Regions from separate parts of the Homo sapiens genome. Here region 1 is linked to region 2. Evidence: promoter capture Hi-C in human tissues and cell types (Jung and others, 2019). All regions are on one chromosome and are shown on one strand. The core of a region is centred on a gene start or on the middle of the fragment in contact, and the rest is flanking DNA. Distances in the headings are between cores, read along the strand shown. Region 1 overlaps TNPO1 (transportin 1). Region 2 holds the start of FOXD1 (forkhead box D1).

The links. The method cuts DNA at HindIII sites, captures the fragments that hold promoters and counts their contacts. A contact is called where the count stands out against the background at its distance.
Region 1: a contact is called between a fragment that was not itself captured here and the fragment with the promoter of FOXD1 in region 2, in 1 of the 25 tissues and cell types used here (H1 embryonic stem cells).

Annotation. Positions count from the first base shown.
Region 1 is chr5:72,899,837-72,903,358 of GRCh38, forward strand. TNPO1 (transportin 1) reads left to right here. Exons shown (of 25, transcript NM_002270.4): 21 at 170-245; 22 at 1,138-1,237. Among named protein-coding and RNA genes, the nearest start is that of MIR4804, 23 kb to the left of the region's middle. The HindIII fragment of the contact is 4,390 bases long and covers 1-3,522 here.
Region 2 is chr5:73,447,188-73,450,660 of GRCh38, forward strand. It overlaps FOXD1 (forkhead box D1), which reads right to left and starts at 1,590. Exons shown (of 1, transcript NM_004472.3): 1 at 1-1,590. The coding sequence starts at 1,175. The HindIII fragment of the contact is 13,220 bases long and covers 1-3,473 here.

The sequences.
Region 1 (3,522 bases), core at 103-2,602, 550 kb before region 2:
GGTAATAAACAGCACTGGTGAAATCTTATGTTTATTATCATACACAAATTCTGTTGGTTTCTGTTTCTGAGTTATTTGTTGTTTTTTCTTTATTTTTTCTCCTTCCCCCTCATTTGCTCATGTCTTGGTTGGCGTTTGGTGGTGTATAACCGTGATTGCGTTACCTTAGCAATAACAATTGGTCGTCTTGGTTACGTTTGTCCTCAAGAGGTGGCCCCCATGCTACAGCAGTTTATAAGACCCTGGTGTGTATTATTCAATCTTTTTTTTTAATTCATTTTTCTTCACTCTTTCTTTCTCTATCTCACTTTTAGATATATTTTCAGTTGGTTACAAAAATCACAATCCTTTATCATTGCCAACCATGTGACTAATCTTGTCCTATCAGGTTTGTGAGGTTTTTCAATAGCATCGTCATGTATATTTATTTTATGTTGTGGCTAACGACTAATTGATGCATGGGATAAGATTGTCACATGCTTGCTGTGTTAAAAAAGCTTGATTATACATAAAAAGCATTTAAATATCCACCAGAAAAATAAAGATGCATGCAAATTCTATAAATTTAGGTTTTTGCATTACGTTTCTTTTTTAGAATTAATTTGGAAACTTGGATTGCATTAAGAAATACATGTTTAAATTTGTTATGTATAAAAATATTATTTGCTTGTTAATGTAAAAGTTAAACATCTACACCATAAGCTATATAGTAATAGTTTATATTGTGGCACTATATCCTATGTTTTGCTTCTTTCAATTGATAATCTTTCAATTCAAATCATTTTAGTAGTGTTTAATGGAATACAAGTCATGAGTACAATTTTAAAAGTTAATTTGGTAATTTGTTCTTCTTGGCTCAGGCTCATTAATAGTTTAAATGGGAGATTCAAATTAGTTATCTACTTTATAAATGCAATTTATTAAGAAAATGTGGATTTCACTGTTTCTACTGTATTGAGATAAGATGGGCCCAACAAACAGGAAGTATGAGTAAACGAAACTAAAGCTTTCCGAAAAACTCTTTTAATATAATCATTATCTATACTGTGGTGCTTATTCCATTAAATACTGTCCATTAGTATTGTCATTGAATCTGCTTGTTACTTAAATGCTAAACTCAATTCTGTAATTCAATAGGTGCACCTCTCTGAGAAACATAAGAGACAATGAGGAAAAGGATTCAGCATTCCGTGGAATTTGTACCATGATCAGTGTGAATCCCAGTGGCGTAATCCAAGTAAGATGTTCACAAAGATTTGTTTTTAATGTCTAATTAATAAAATTTTAAAGGAAGAAACATTCTAATACTTTAATTATAAAAAGTTAACTATTTTCAAAGGTATCAAAATACAGTTAAACCTTTAAAATGTATATTTCTTAATATCTTGAAATTGTAATGCCTTTTTTTTTTCCTAAATTTTTTTTGTCATGAAATGAGATAGTAACAGCAGATTGGGACAACAAGGTTATATTCTTGTCTTGAATCAGGCCATGGCTTCTTTCATCCAAATTTCAGACCTCATTTATTTACTTTGTCCCTGCCTCCCATCCCTGGATATCAGTTTGTGGATATCTACAGTTAATAGAGTGACCAAATAGTAGGAATACTGTCTCTCTATTCTGAATAAAATACTTTGAATCAGATTTAGAAATAATGAATAAAATACAAATCAGCCATTGAAATTGCTCTAATTTTGAGAGCTTATGATTTATTCATCTTTGTTTTCCAAGTTCAAGTTATATGTAGACATTTTAATTATTCGGCAGTAGTATTGAACATGAGTCCAGTTAAGCATCTGGATCCAACTGCCAATTTTCTAGACACACAAAACAAAAACATGTTGAATTACACCATGTATATTCAGTGAACAAAATGCTAACTGTGGGACTCTAGGTTAAATACCTGGATTCTTCAGCAGACACGTTTAAGGAAAAGAAAGCGTGGAAGGAATCCTGTAGACAAGAGACCCAAGATACATCAAATCAATTGAAAAACGTAGTTGAGGCCGAGGCAGGCAGATCACGAGGTCAGGAGTTCGAGACCAGCCTGGTCAACATGGTGAAACCCCATCTCTACTTCAGATAAAAAATTAGCCAGGCTTGGTGGCAGGTGCCTGTAATCCCAGCTCTCGGGAGGTTGAGGCAGGAGAATTGCTTGAACCCGGGAGGCAGAGGTTGCAATGAGCCGAGATCGCGCTATGGCACTCCAGTCTGGGGGACAAGAGCGAGACTTCATCTGGAAAAAAAAAAAATGTAGTTGAGGGAGGGAAGCAAAGAACTAAATTTTGGTTTCCAGGAATGCACACAAGAGTTATAAAACTGCCCCAAAAAAATGCTTTTATAGCAATAACTTTCTCACATTTCTTAATTTTCAAGAAAATTGAAACTTTCCACTCCGAGAGGGGTGTTTTGAACATTTTTAAATTGTGACCTTTTGATGTTTCCTAGCTCGTATTGTGGTTTTTCTTAACTCGGTTTTAGAAACGTTAATTCTGTTTTATAAAATTCAAATTGATACAGGTGATAGACGTTGAAAACCTACAAGTTAGAATTAGAAAATAACTTCTGACTGATTTCACACTCATAAAATATTCATAACTTACTGTTAGAACAAGCCAGTGCCATCTTGAGAGGTTTCTAGTTACAAAATAAGCTTTTGACATTTTCTGGGTTTTTGTTTTTTTTTTTAATACTTAAGAACTTTGTGTGATCTCAAATGTGTGCTAGAGGTATCTGATATGACATGTACCATCTTTTTCAAAAGTATCTTCCGACCAAGATTTTATTGTTTCTTTGTTTTTGAATTAATGTTTTAAGATGATAAAAGTAGCACATGTATGATCATAAAATTGTTACCAACTTAAGAGTTGGTAGAAATTTCTGTTTTATAACTTTTATTCACATACCTTATTTTGGATATGGTTAAAATAAAATGTCATAGGTTTATTTACATTTAAATTTTTTAATCACAAATTCTGGGTATCTGTGCATTTAAATTTTTAACATCAGATTTGGTATTTGGAAGACATAATTTGAATAAATTGTGTTAAGCAAATCTTTTTTGCTTAAATAAACATACACACACTGTAGTATTACCAAATTTTTTGAAATTAGTGAAGTTTTCTGAATATAATAGTAAAATTTATAGTTGACATGTCAGAAAATCAGCAATATGTTGAATGCTGTTTGTTGAACTGTTAGTGTTTCAGTATGATAGGCAAGATTGAGAATATTTTAATGAAATGCTTAAAGCATATTATTATCTTGTTCTTATAGTCAGAATAGCCTGATTATCTTTTAAGTAATTGTCCAAAAGTTGGGTTTTTTGTTCTTGTTTGGATTGGGTATTTGTAATTACATAATTAGTTTTTCTTCAATTTTTTGGTTGTTTCAACTAAGTTATGTCTGAAAATGGACCTTGAAATTACTAATTTCTCTATTTCAAATCAAGGTCATTTAATATATATTTAGCTAGCTTTAATTTCTTTCTAGGCCAGTCAAAACTGTAAGATCATTGGTTTT
Region 2 (3,473 bases), core at 340-2,839:
GGCGAGGCCTGAGCGGCGGCGGCGGCCTGCGCGGCGGCGGCGGCAGCGGCGGCCGGGCCCAAGCTGCCCCCGATGATGCTCTCGATGGAGAAGGGCGAGCGCGCCAGCGCTGAGGCGCCCGGGCCGCCCGCCTTGGCCGCGGAGGCCGGCAGGGGGCCGGGTAGGGCGGCGCCGAGCGGGTGCGGCCGGTAGCCGAAGGCGGTCCGGGCCAGCTCGGCGGCCGCGCCGTGCGGTGGCGGGGGCGGCGGGGGCGAGTGCGGGTGGAAGGCGGCGGCGGCGGCGGCGGCCGCTGCGGCGGCGAAGAGGGCCGAGGGCGGCGCGTAAGGCGGCAGCTGCAGGCCGTAGCCGCAGCCGTAGGGGCCGTAGCCGTAGGCATGCGGGGGCGGCGGGGGCGCGGGCGGGAAGAGCGCGGCGGCGGCTGCCGGGTCGCCCGCGCCCCCTGCGGCTCCCGCGCCGCGCAGCAGCAGAGACTCGGCGGCCGCGGCGTTGGGTGGGAGCAGCGGCTGCCGCTTGAAGCGCTTCCTCCGGCGCAGGAAGCTGCCGTTGTCGAACATGTCGGCGGACTCCGGGTCCAGCGTCCAGTAGTTGCCCTTGCCCGGGTTGCCGGGCTCGCGGGGGATCTTGACGAAGCAGTCGTTGAGCGAGAGGTTGTGGCGGATGCTGTTCTGCCAGGCGGGGAACTTCTCCCGGTAGTAGGGGAAGCGGCCGCTGATGAACTCACAGATCTCGCTCAGCGTCAGCCGCTTCTTGGGGCTCTGCAGGATGGCCATAGTGATGAGCGCGATATACGAGTAGGGCGGCTTCACCAGCGGGTTCTTGGCGCCGCTACCCGCGCTCCCGCCGCCGCCCGCGCCGCCGCCGCCGCCGCCCCCACCGGCTCCTGCCCCCGCCGCCGGGGCCGGGCCCGGGGGCGCCGGGGAGCCCCCAGCAGGCGGGGCCAGCAGGATGTCATCGTCGTCCTCCTCCTCCTCCAGATCCTCCAGCTCGTCCTCCCCGGCGTACGAGCGCCGCCGCCGCCGCCGCTGCGCGGGGACAGCCAGCCGGGGCCCGCCACCGCCGCCCTCGTCGTCGTCCTCCTCTTCCTCGTCTTCTTCGTCCTCGCCCTCCCCCACCACGTCGATGTCTGTTTCCTCGGCGAGGCCAGAGGCATCGGACATCTCAGTGCTCAGGGTCATAGCTGTGGCGCGGCGGCGGCGGGGCGGCGCATGGGGGCGCCGGGCTCCGGGCTCCCTCTGCGCCCCAGCCCGGGTCCCGGGCGGCAGGCCCGGCCGGGGGGCGCCACGCTGGGGGCGCTGCGACTGCGGCTGCCGGAGCTGCGCCGGGGCTGCCGGGTGGCGGCGGAGTCTCGCGCGCCGACTTTATAACTCCTGCGCCGCCGCGGTAGCCGCGCGGATGCTGCGCTCCCTGGGCTCCGCTCGCGCCCGGCCCGGGCGGAGGACTTGACCTTCTCCTCTCGGAGCAGCTTTTGCCCCGTCAGCTGAGGAGGGGGTGGCGGGGCCCGGGCGGGCGAATCAGAACGCCAGGCGCCCAGGAACGTGCGGGACGGGTGAGAGTCTAAGAACAGAGCTCGGCGAGGCCAGGGCTGAGTCCAGGAGAGGGCGGACCTTCCTCGGCTTATAGCAGAAGGGGGCCTGTCACATGGTGTGCACGTCAGAGCGCTGCCGAGGGAAGGAAAGCAAGCCTAGGAAATCAGCCCTTCTCGGGAGAGAAAATTCACCCGTAGGAGGGAGGCAGCAGCTGAGAAGAGTGGGGAGGAGAGGGGACCTCACTATTTCTTGCCAAAGAGGCTGATGCCCGAATTACGCGGCTGTCTGCACCGAGGGCCGCTGCACGAGTTAGACTTCCCAGCCTCCTCAATTAGTCCTCCACCCTAACCTCAGAAGCACACCCGCGACACTCTGGTTTGACCCCTCGACAGCCTGTAGGAGCCTTCCAGCCGGGGGATAACCACCCCATCCTCTGAGGTGGCCCCTGGGGGACGCTCTGGGGTCGGTTGGGGGTGTCCAGCCCCTCCAGATCGGGCGAGCGGCCCCCCATTGGATCTGATGCGAAGCCCCCCAATTTAAGCACGATAATAATTGTTTATTGACCCTTTAACCCATTCTCTTCGGTTTTACTCCAAAGACGTTTGTTTTCCGCCATCTGTTAATAAAAACGCTGTGAGACTGGCGTTTTACTCACTTCTCTGCGATTGAATGCCCTAGAGACTTGACAGTTAAACTAAGCCACTCTAATGAGACGATCTGACAAATGTCATGGGAATAAAGAACGTAATAATTGAATTCGGAGAAGAAATTGAAATTTTTAGTGAAAACCCAAATACACGCACAAAAATTGCACCTAGAAACTACTAAAAAGTTCGACCAGCCTGGCCAACATGGTGAAACCCCGTCTCTACTAAAAATAGAAAAAAATTAGTAGGCGGCGCCTGTAATCCCAGCTACTCGGGAGGCCGAGGCAGGAGAATCGCTTGGACCCGGGATGCGGAGGTTGCAGTGAGCCGAGATCGTGCCACTGCACTCCAGCCTGGGCAACAAGAGCGAAACTCCGCCTCAAAAAAAAAAAAAAAAAACAGAAGTTCGTTCATAATGGGGCTATATAGTTCTCAGTAGGAGGAACATTCTAGTCAGCACTTTGCATAGTAATCTCAAAATACTTAAATTACATAACATATACATATTTCTACTGAGGCTTATTAATAGAAACTATAATGATAGATGACTTTAAGATAAACTTTTTAAAAATGTGTTTTTGGAAAATCCTTAAATATTGTTAATCCTTTCTGGTGAGATGAAAATTTTTTTTATGAGATTAAAGTTCCGCTCAATTCAGTTTTCTTTTCGGGTGACAAGATAGTGGAAATAATTAAGATATGATGCTCTTTTAAATATACCTATCTTTATCACCAACTCAAACGAGCTATTTTGGCTAGTGGAAAAATCCTAATAGTTTGTTGAATTCACATTCACTTATTTGTGCATTTCCTAAAATGCTTCTATTTCAAAGAGGGGAGCTTGTCCCAAAAGTTTAACTTTCTGATTAAAATGACCCCTTGACAAGAACTAAGAATCAAAATTCAATGGCGTTCTGTAGGAACAGCCATCAGCTGCCCTTGTGTATATCATTTTATCGACCAAGTACTTTTCACATTCTGAAACGTGTCATTACTACCGCTGTCAATCACAGAGCCTCAGAAATAAACTGTTTCCCCATCTAAAGACCTCTATTAAAATCGAGTTTTTGTTGCTGAGGACTGCTACCACCAGTTACTCTTACAAGTGACCCATAAAGGCTATCATAGGTCTTTGAACAATCTATGAGAAAGCCTCGACGTTCTAAATAAATTATTTTTCATTAACTCTTGTTTGATATATGGGTGAACAATTTAATTACTGTAATAGGCTGAGCATTAACCTGAGCCAACATTAATCAGCACTATTAATCAGGCATCACATTGCTTTGTTGATGCAGCC